2 separate regions of the Homo sapiens genome follow, and region 1 is linked to region 2. The links are contacts of gene promoters, found by promoter capture Hi-C in human tissues and cell types (Jung and others, 2019). All regions are on one chromosome and are shown on one strand. The core of a region is centred on a gene start or on the middle of the fragment in contact, and the rest is flanking DNA. Distances in the headings are between cores, read along the strand shown.

The links. The method cuts DNA at HindIII sites, captures the fragments that hold promoters and counts their contacts. A contact is called where the count stands out against the background at its distance.
Region 1: a contact is called between a fragment that was not itself captured here and the fragment with the promoter of CDC20 in region 2, in 1 of the 25 tissues and cell types used here (hippocampus).

Annotation. Positions count from the first base shown.
Region 1 is chr1:44,414,580-44,419,627 of GRCh38, reverse strand. All of the region lies in intron 2 of RNF220 (ring finger protein 220), which reads right to left. Among named protein-coding and RNA genes, the nearest start is that of RNF220, 12 kb to the right of the region's middle. The HindIII fragment of the contact is 3,748 bases long and covers 1,831-5,048 here.
Region 2 is chr1:43,356,619-43,361,324 of GRCh38, reverse strand. CDC20 (cell division cycle 20) reads right to left here and starts at 2,344. Exons shown (of 11, transcript NM_001255.3): 1 at 2,319-2,344; 2 at 1,929-2,158; 3 at 1,687-1,835; 4 at 1,504-1,600; 5 at 1,228-1,356; 6 at 936-1,132; 7 at 732-826; 8 at 364-592; 9 at 80-205. The coding sequence starts at 2,109. It overlaps CDC20-DT (CDC20 divergent transcript), which reads left to right and starts at 2,652. Exons shown (of 4, transcript NR_183650.1): 1 at 2,652-2,775; 2 at 3,217-3,283; 3 at 3,425-3,522. RefSeq lists silencers at 2,156-2,305, 2,496-2,605 and enhancers at 2,048-2,556, 2,896-2,955, 3,067-3,575. The HindIII fragment of the contact is 17,818 bases long and covers 1-4,706 here.

The DNA.
Region 1 (5,048 bases), core at 2,455-4,954, 1.1 Mb before region 2:
TAAAGTAAAAACTAGATTATAATCGCCACCACTAAGGTATTCAATATGCAATGAACACTAAACCCTTTTAGATGATTGGTACCAGACAAAAAATAATAATTTTTTTAAACACTAAAACTAAAGTAGTGTGATTAAGATAACAGAAAAGTCCAATCCATTGGGTAAGGCTGGAAGATGATAAATTCCTTCTGTTTACTTAGCATCTACCAGGTGTTCTGATTCATACTACAGCCTATCATTTCTCCAGGCTCAACATGTAGTCCCAATCCAGGATCTTTTCTTGGAAAAGGTGTAAGAAGGTTCTTTCGCAGAAAATTCTTCTTGCTGCAAAGAAAGAGATACTTACAAATTCCTACCCTGTAGCACACATGTGAAGTTACAAAGGATAACAACACATTCTGTTCAACCATACATGCCACAATTTAAATGATACTTAAAAAAAATTTTTAAAGGCATTTTAGCTAATATATAGCAATAAATTATCCTTAAGTCTGCAGTTCATCTCTCTTTAAGACGGGATAAAATGGCACTGGGAAATGCTGTTAAACTCTTAGCAGCAAATATGCAAGTCCAAACAATATTGCTATTTTGGTGTTTAAAAATCCTGTGGATTTTACAATGCAATGTACCATCACTCCAAATCTCAAGTATTTATAAAGAGCACGTCCCAAGGTGTGCTTCGATATTTATTAACCACATGGATGTGGTTAATAAGAGTTAAAAATAAGAAAAACTATTATAAAAATATAACTCCATTAAATATGCTGTCACTCCAAATCTCAATTATTTACAAAGAATACATTTCAATGTGTGCCAATATTTATTAACCAGATGGATGTAGTTAATAAGGGTTAAAAATAAGAAAACCAATATAAAAATATAATTCTATTTTTCAGTTTCCTCTTCCCTGCCTAATGAGGAAAGGGGGTGGGGAGGGACAGCAACTTTTGTTATTTGGATACAATGTGTGTGTGTTTTTTTTTTTGTTTTCAAACAAAAAAGGGCCACCAAATAATCAACCTGGGGCCGCTGACCGGAAGGCAGCCCCGGAAAACTTCCCGTGGGAAGAGTTCCAGAAATTGCCCAGACTTTAACGAGCCCCGCTGTGCTGGCTGCGAGCCTCAGAGGCCACCGCGACTCGCCTTGCCCGAATGCCAGCAATCCCGCCGAAGGACGGAGCCCTGGACTTCGGAAACATTCCCCGGAACATTTTTACAGATTTGAAAAGCAGGAAGGGAAAAACATTTCAAGCCGAAAGGAGAAGCCTCAGAGTCCTGGGGGCACCAAGGGGCCAGCGAGGTCCCCAGGCGCTGTACACACGTCCAACCTCCCTCCTCCACGCGCCCTGCTCCCCCAACCTCCTCCCATCCCTCCTTCTCCAGGCAGAACCCTCCCCGCGCAGTGGCCATCCCCACGCCCGCGCTGTGTCCCCCTCACGCCCCGTGCACCCACTAGCGCCTCCCGCGCGCTCCCATGCACCCCGACGTCGCGTGGGCGCCCCCCCCTTATCCGTCACCCCGGTTCCCACTCTCTTCTGCTCAGACGGCGTAGAGGAAACCGATCGGGGACTGGGTTCTTAGTGCGACTTGGGGGTGCAGGGACGTGGAGGGCGAGGCGGGGCAGGGCGGGGGGCGCGACGGGCCCTCGTGTGTGCGGCCGCGGGCTGGGCGCTCCCGGCCCTCGAGGCGGCGCGCGGAGTCCTCCTGCGGCCTCCAAGTGCTGCAGAGCGACGGCGAGATCACCAACATTTCTGAAACCACTTGCAAGCCGCCTCGGTGGCGGAGGCTGGGGGTCCCTTGCAAGTAAGCGAACGGGGCCCACCCCGTGGCCTGGCCTCCCCGGGGCCAGTTCTCGCGCCTCTCCGCGCCCCCTCCCCCAGAAGATCAATTACCAGCCACCCTTCTGCCGGCAGCGGCGAGGGGCTGGCGGGCGGCCGCGAGAAAACGGCAGCCCGGATCACTTCTGCATGACAATTGATGGGAGGGAGGGCGCGGGGCGAGGAGGGAGGACGGCTGCGGTGTCCGTTTTCTCACCATGGTGATTAGGCATTCCGGCCGTAAGAGGAGGCAGCCGCCGCACAGAGCGGCGCGGCGTGGAGCGAGGGCAGGGGAAGAGCGGGAGCACAACTACAGCGAGCCCAGCCGCCAGGCGAGCGGCGCGCCGAGCCAAGCCAAGCCAGGCCAGATGGCTCTGCAGCCATCAGGGACTGCTCCCGTCCAGCCTGGCCCCACTTTAGCTGTGCAAACATTTCTTTATCCCAACAAGACAATTAAACCCAGCAGCATGAAAAAGAGTCTCCATGACTGTGTTGGGAGTGAACAACCAGAAACAACCACACACATCACAGGAGTTCTTGCCCCCGGGGAGTAGGGGAGAACCCGGGAGCAGCTGAGGGAGAGTCAGGCTAGGTCTGGGCAGTCAGGACAGAGGGAAGCATCTGACCCAGGTCTTCTGGCGATTTGCTGACCCTTTCCCAGTGGTCATCTGTCCCAGCTGCAACCCAGAGGTGCAGCCTGGCCACCTGGCATGCCCCAAACATTCTCCCTAGCAAGAACAACTCTCCTAAAAGCCCAGTGTAGAGTCCCTGCCCACCCCAGTCCCAGAGCCCTTGGAAAGTATCCCCCCTCACCCCAGCCCTCCCCATTCCAGGCTGCCTTTGGCCTAGGTGGGCTCAGCTGATTTGATTGTTAGAACACAGGGTCTTCAATGATACATGCCTTTATATAAAGACACAGAGTACAAAATACCATCTCCTACTCAGGGCTTTTGGGACCCAAGAATGGCTGTTCAAGTACATCAAAGATGAGAGCAAAGCAGAACATCCAGGAGCTGCTGTGAGCCATCAGGTTTCCTGCCTACCTGTGACTCTGCCCGACCACAGTGAAGGTCAAGGAAAGAGGGCAAAGCCAAGCCACGTGTGGTCAGTGCCCAGGGTCCATCCCTGGGGTAAGCCAGAAGACAGGGCCAGTCGCCGCTCCACGCGGGCAGTTCTGGGCCCTCTCAGCCCTGTGGTGAGCATGTATACTTCGCCAACTCCAATCTGGGCTGAGTGGATAGGCTGGCAGGCTGGCCAAAGACTGTGTCACACAGGCAGGAATCTGGGCACAGGGGCAGCCTGAAGAGGACCATCAGGATATGCACATGACAGGAGCCAGAGTGCTAAGGGGGTAATAAATGTACAGATTCTAACACAAGACAGCAGACAATACTTATCTTCCCTTTTGTTGTGAAGTTTCCTTAATGAGGAAATGTTTATTTTAAAGGCCCTGGGAAACATGGCTGTAGACATTTCATATGTAAAGCACACGTGAACTACTTGTAATTGGTCCGTAAATTTTAGCATTATTTCCCTGGACAATGAGTCTTGGGGACTGATTCAAGGAGTGACAATAAGCAGGAGTTACCTCAGTCTCCTTCCTGGGGAATTATGCATCCTCCATGAATGGCTTCTCACAAAACACTTCTCCCATTTTCCAGGGCAAGTAAGTCAGTCCTGCAGAGTAAAGGCTGCTTGTTTTTCCATAGAGCACAACACCTCCCTCAGGAATCACCTGTGAAGCCAGGTGGATGGACAGGCAAGCAAACCAGAATCATCTATCAGGAAAGATGATGCTTGACCCAAATCGCTATATTTCTGTCTATAAAAATGCATGTTTAACCACAAAAGAAATCCTGCCTACCAGTACCCAGATTTAAGGAAAGAACATGTGTGCATTACACCATGTCTGCAGGCCTCTCTTTCCAGTGGGCTCACAAGTGGACATATCTGCAGATTGATGTAGTGTGTGAGCAGGGGGTGGCTGCAGCAGTAAAAACTGTCAGTGTTTCCATTATACAACTGATTTCTTAATGACCTAAAACTCAGTCATAAAAACTTCTGCTCTAAGTAAAGGACACACACCACCATTCTCATCTCCCACCCCCACCCACCAACAAAACTCTAAAGCTAAATGCTTACTTCGGAGTTTGACTGCTGCACTTAATTAAAACATTTAAAAAATATTTTATGAAAAGATATTTATATGAAGAGAACTGAAAAATGAGTCAACCATATCAGCAATTAACTCTAAATTTTAAGAATAAATATATATACATATATACACGTGTGTGTGTGTGTGTGTGTATATCAACCATATATGGTTAATTTGGGCAATCTGGCGAAAGCACTGTATCCTATCACTCTGCTCGTCTGAACACTTTCTATCCTCTGTCTTTTCATATCCCCATACCCCGTCACTGCCCCCATCTGCCCCTGAAGCTTTCTCTCCCTTTGGAAGCAGTCTTGTATACTGTCACTCGATTATCTGAGAAATATTACTTATTTCAAAACGGTTCTGTAGGGAGGACCTGAAAGGCATCTAGTGGGAATAATCAGGCCTTCTAACGACCCTTAAATATGTATTTACATAAAACAGACCATAAATATTCCGACACACGTCGGCATATGACAGGAGCCAAGAAAGCTGCTGCAGACTTTGTCTTAGTGCCTCTTCAACCCTTCCTTACAGAAAAATACTTCTCCTGCCTTCCAAAAATTCGCAATCAAAAGCACAAACGCTATCTAGTATGACCCAGTGAGGGATGTGCTAACCACCTAAGGTAAGGAAGGGAGTAAAAAGCACAACTCCAGGGTGACCACAGGGTAGCACAGCCTCCTTTTCACTTTGCACCTTTGTTTTTTATTAAAGATTAGTCACAAATGCAACTCTGGATAATAACGAGGGTGTACGAACACCCTCCCCTCACAGACACTCCTATAGGTTTTATGCTTGTGTACAAGAAAAAAAAAGGAGAACACAGGGTACTCTATAAGGGAAGACTATTTTAAATGAATAAAAGAGGAAAGGGACTCCAATTTGTATAACACCGCATTGGAAATAAAGAAGTTTCCCCACCCTTCTGATCAGAATCTCATTAATTTCAAGGTCAGAATTCCATTTCACTTTGGGAGACAGACTCATTTAATTTTTCTCCACCCAGGCGTACTCCTGTGTGAGGGATCCATCTCCATGGGGGATGCCACCACCACACAATGCAAACCAGGCAAA
Region 2 (4,706 bases), core at 1,095-3,594:
AGTTGGTGAAGCCATTGGAGTGAATGTAGTTGCCCGGTAAGAATGCATGTGGGAGAGGCAGGAACAGGCAAAAGATTACCTGGGAATGGGCATCCACGGCACTCAGACAGGCCCCAGAGCACACATTCCAGATGCGAATGTGTCGATCACTGGTGCCCCCTCCTGTTGCCAGGACATTGGACTGCCAGGGACACCATGCTACGGCCTAGATGGAATAAAGGTGGGGTCAGCAGGTACTAGAGCCAGACAAGGAGCTCTAGGGGTCACAGATTAACCCAGTCCAATCCTACCATCCCTTCTCCCCTTAACAGTCCCCAGATTATAGGTGAGGGTCTGCAGAGGCTTCAGCCCAACCCTACTCACCTTGACAGCCCCTTGATGCTGGGTGAATGTCTGCAGAGGAACCCAGCCACCCTCTCCAGGAGCACTAGGCCACACATTGACCAAGTTATCATTACCACCACTGGCCAAATGTCGTCCATCTGGGGCCCAGCGCAGCCCACACACTTCCTGGCTGTGGCCACTCAGTGTGGCCACATGGTGTTCTGCTACCCGAACATCATGGTGGTGGATGTGGCCAGAACGTGAACCACTGGAGGAGGAAAGAAGGGAATCAGGTTCTGTGGCAGCACCAAATGCAAGCAAGCCAGAGCTGGTTCAGTTCAGGGGTGTACAGTCAAGGGGAGGGTGGGCAAATATCAGACTACCATAGACCAACAAAAACCACTGACCTGGACAGGATATAGCTGTTCCAGCTTAGGGAGCCCACTCGGGCAGAGTGACTGGTCATATTTCGAAGCCGTTTCTGCTGCTGCACATCCCATAGCTAGAGAGAGAAGCCCACTAGGATCAGAGATTGGGACTTGGCATTAATATCCTCCAGCTGTGCAAGCCCATTGGGACTGGTGAGAATGACAGCACTGGACACGTCTCACCTGCACCTCAGCACTGCTGGTGCCCACAGCCAAGTAGTTGCCCTCTTTGATCCAGGCCACAGAGGATATATATTCCCCAGGCTGCTCCATTTGCAAAAGCTGCAGGATGTCACCAGAGCTTGCACTCCACAGGTACACACTGTTGTCCAGTGCCACGGCCAGTACATTCCCAGAACTCCAATCCACAAGGTTCAGGTCTGTCAGAGGTGGAGAGAAGAGCATGAGCTTCCTTGTTTGTGTGGTCCCAGGCCCTCTTTCTCCATGCATGAGGCGAGGATAAGGATGCACTTACAATAGTCATTTCGGATTTCAGGCGCATCCAGGATACGGTCTGGCAGGGAAGGAATGTAACGGCAGGTCTTCCGGCTGGAGCCAGGAGTGGCCTTTTGGCTGTAGAGTACTTTCAGTCTGTTCTGATAACCTGTGGCAACGGAGTGAGTCTAGACGCTGGGAAAATCAACACCTCCCTTGCCCTCAATCTTAGATAGGAAGAGGAGACAGATATCTGTGCTCAGCCCTGGAGATGAACTGACACCTCCCTCCAGGAACCAGGAACTTCGGGTCTTACCCTCTGGCGCATTTTGTGGTTTTCCACTGAGCCGAAGGATCTTGGCTTCCTCTACATCAAAACCGTTCAGGTTCAAAGCCCAGGCTTTCTGATGTTCCTGGCATAAAGGGTAGTGAAGGAGCAAGATGGTATTATCCAAAGAACAGTCAGGTCCCGTGCCTTAAGCCCCTCTGGGACACATACCTTCTTGGTGGGCGTCTGGCTGTTTTCAGGCTGGTTCTCCTTGCTCAGGAGGAAGCTGGCCACCTCCATCTGGGCAGCACTGCGATGGGGGATATAGCGGTCACCGCCAGGTTTGCTAGGAGTGGTCTGAACCTTGGAACTGGATTTGCCTGGGGCGGAGAAAGAGAAGACAGTCTGACCAGGCTCCCCAGGGAGAAAGTATGAAGGCTGCTCTCACTCAGTTCCTTTGGCACCTCACTGACCAGGAGTTCGGCCCGGAGTCCTGCCGGCGCTGTGGGATCGGTTGGCGGCCCGCATGGGTGAGGGGGCCGGGCCTGCGGCTTCCTTGGCTTTGCGCTGCCAGCGCGCAGGGGGTGCATTGGGGATGGGTGCATCCAGCTGAAGCAGCGAGTGCAGGTCACTCTCGAACGCGAACTGTGCCATGGGAGCGCCCGCAGGGGGAGGGGTCCTTGCAGTTGGTGCCTACGGAGCCCTGGAGGAAAGGAGGCGACGGTGCTCAGGGGACAGAAAGGGACCCCTTCGCTCCTGGCCGGCCACAAAATCAGGGCCACCCTCGGCTGCAGCCCCTTCCGGCCTAGCACCCCCTCCCCCTGGCCACGGCCCCACCTCGGCTCAGCCCCACCACCTCTCACCGTGCCCTCCGGAGCAGTTCCGACCGGCTTTAACACGCCTGGCTTACGCCTCTTAAACTCTCCGCTCCGAGCGCCTATTGGCTCCTTCAAAATCCAACCGTCGCAACCGTTGCCCTAGCCCATTGGCCTCTCCGGCGAAGGGGGCGGGCCTTCCGGGGAAAGTCTCAGCTATCACGAGAGTCTAGCGGCGGAGCGCGATTTGAAGGGTACGAGAGGGGCTGGGAGCCGGCGCCAGAGGACTAGTACTGGAAAGCCGGCCGGGACAGGGCGGGGCAGGGCGGGGCCGGGTGGGGCCTGCGCTGCCTCAGCGTCCTGGAGTCGTCTCGGTTCGCCCTTTTGCGTGCCTTCCACCGCCGCGAGCTCGGAATGTCTGGCCCCGGGTGCTTCAGGGTCCGAGAACCTGCAGAAGTTCACACTTAAATCCTACACGAGAGTCGTATTTATGATGCAGAACTCGGTGCAGAACCCGATGGAGTGCCCAAGGCGCTTGAGCCGTTCCTAGAAGGGGAAGGAGAGCCGCGGGCGGCAGCGGGGCAGGGGACGGAATTGGGAAGCTTGGGAGCAGGAAGAAGGCCAGAGCTACTTAGGGTACATTCCACTTTTGCTTGGCGCCGGGTAGGAACCCTGCTAGAAAGGAAGTAACGTGTGTTTGTCTCGTTTGCTGTTGTTTTACAAACAGGGAAAATGAGGTTGAAAAGGGTGAATGAATTCCTTAAGGTCAAGAAAAAGGATCGGTATTCAAACCTGCCTATCTGGAAGATAAGCTTAGACTGCCCTACAGGAGGCACTGTGGCTTATCCCCTTGGGGCTTTAAAGATGTGAGGACCTTAGAGATCCATTAGTCTAACCTGTGCGTGGTGCAGCCTCCCCACCCCGACAACAAATCCATATTTTACAGATGGAGAAACGGAGGCCCAGGGAAGGGATGTGCCCGAGGTCATACAAAGAAGTTTGTGGGAATCCAGGTCTGACTCGCACTCAATCTAGTGCTCTAATAATGACTTGAGTGAATTGTATGAATGTGCTCAGAGGTGGAGCAGCAATCATAAAAGTAATAATGGTACCATTTATGGACCATCTAACTACTGTGTTAAAACAATTTACAGGCCATGCGCGGTGGCTCACGCTTGTAATCCCAGCACTTTGGGAGGCCGAGGCGGGCAGATCACGAAGTCAGAAGATCGAGACCATCCTGGCTAACACGGTGAAACCCCGTCTTTACTAAAAATACAAAAAATTAGCCGGGCTTGGTGGCGGGCGCCTGTAGTTCCAGCTACTCGAGAGGCTGAGGCAGGAGAATGGCGTGAACCCGGGAGGCGGAGCTTGCAGTGAGCCGAGATCGAGCCACTGCACTCCAGCCTGGGCAACAGAGCGATACTCTGTCTGAAAAAAAAAAAAAAAGTTTACATACATTATCGAGTTCAATCCTTAATCCCATAAGGCAGATAGATACCCCATCTTCCCTTTACAGAAAAAAGAAACTGGGTCAGAAAGATTAGAAACTTGCCCAAAGGCATGCAGCCAATAATAAGTAGGGGAGCCCAGGATTCAAACTATCTGACTAATCCCTGCAATCTAAACAATACGCTATACTGTCCCAGAAAGAGGCTGGAAAAATCATTTTCAGTCATTAGCTTAAAGTCCACTCCGATGCTTACAGATAATGTTATTATCTTTGACTTGAAGCCTTTGCATTCTCTATTTCCAATTACCTTGGAAAATAAGGAATTGGATATGCTTAGGTTAGAGGTGGGGAATTCCCAGAAAACATAGAAAAGGTTGTCTCATGTCAAGTTGGTCAGGGTCTTAAATGTTAAGCTAAAGACTTTGGACTTCATCTGCTAGGCATTGTGGTACCTGTGGGGTTTCTGTGTAGGGAAGGACCAAATAAAACATCTGAGGGGGGGGATATGGCAATAATTTGCAACTTCTGGTGGTAGCTATAGAGAAGGATAAAGGGTATAGCCTCAGGGAATTTGTACATTTAAAAATAAAGGATTTGGGCAGGTTGTCATGGTTCACTCCTGTAATCCCAGCACTTTGGGAGGCCAAGGCGGGCAGATCACTTGAAGTCAGTAGTTCAAGACTAGTCGGGCCAATGTGGCGAAACCCTGTCTCTACTAGAAGTACAAAATTAGCCAGGTGTGGTGGTGCACACCTGTAATCCCAGCTACCTGGGAGGCTGAGGCAGGGGAATCGCTTGAACCTGGGAGGCGCAGGTTGTAGTGAGCGAGGTCGCGCCACTGCACTCTAGCCTGGGTGACAGAGGGAGACTTTGTCTCAAAATAATAATAATAATAAATGAATGAAGGAAGGCAATGGAAATTATCCAGACATGGATCTTGAAGTGGGAGATACCCTAATATATGTAGTCAAGTGGAATGATGA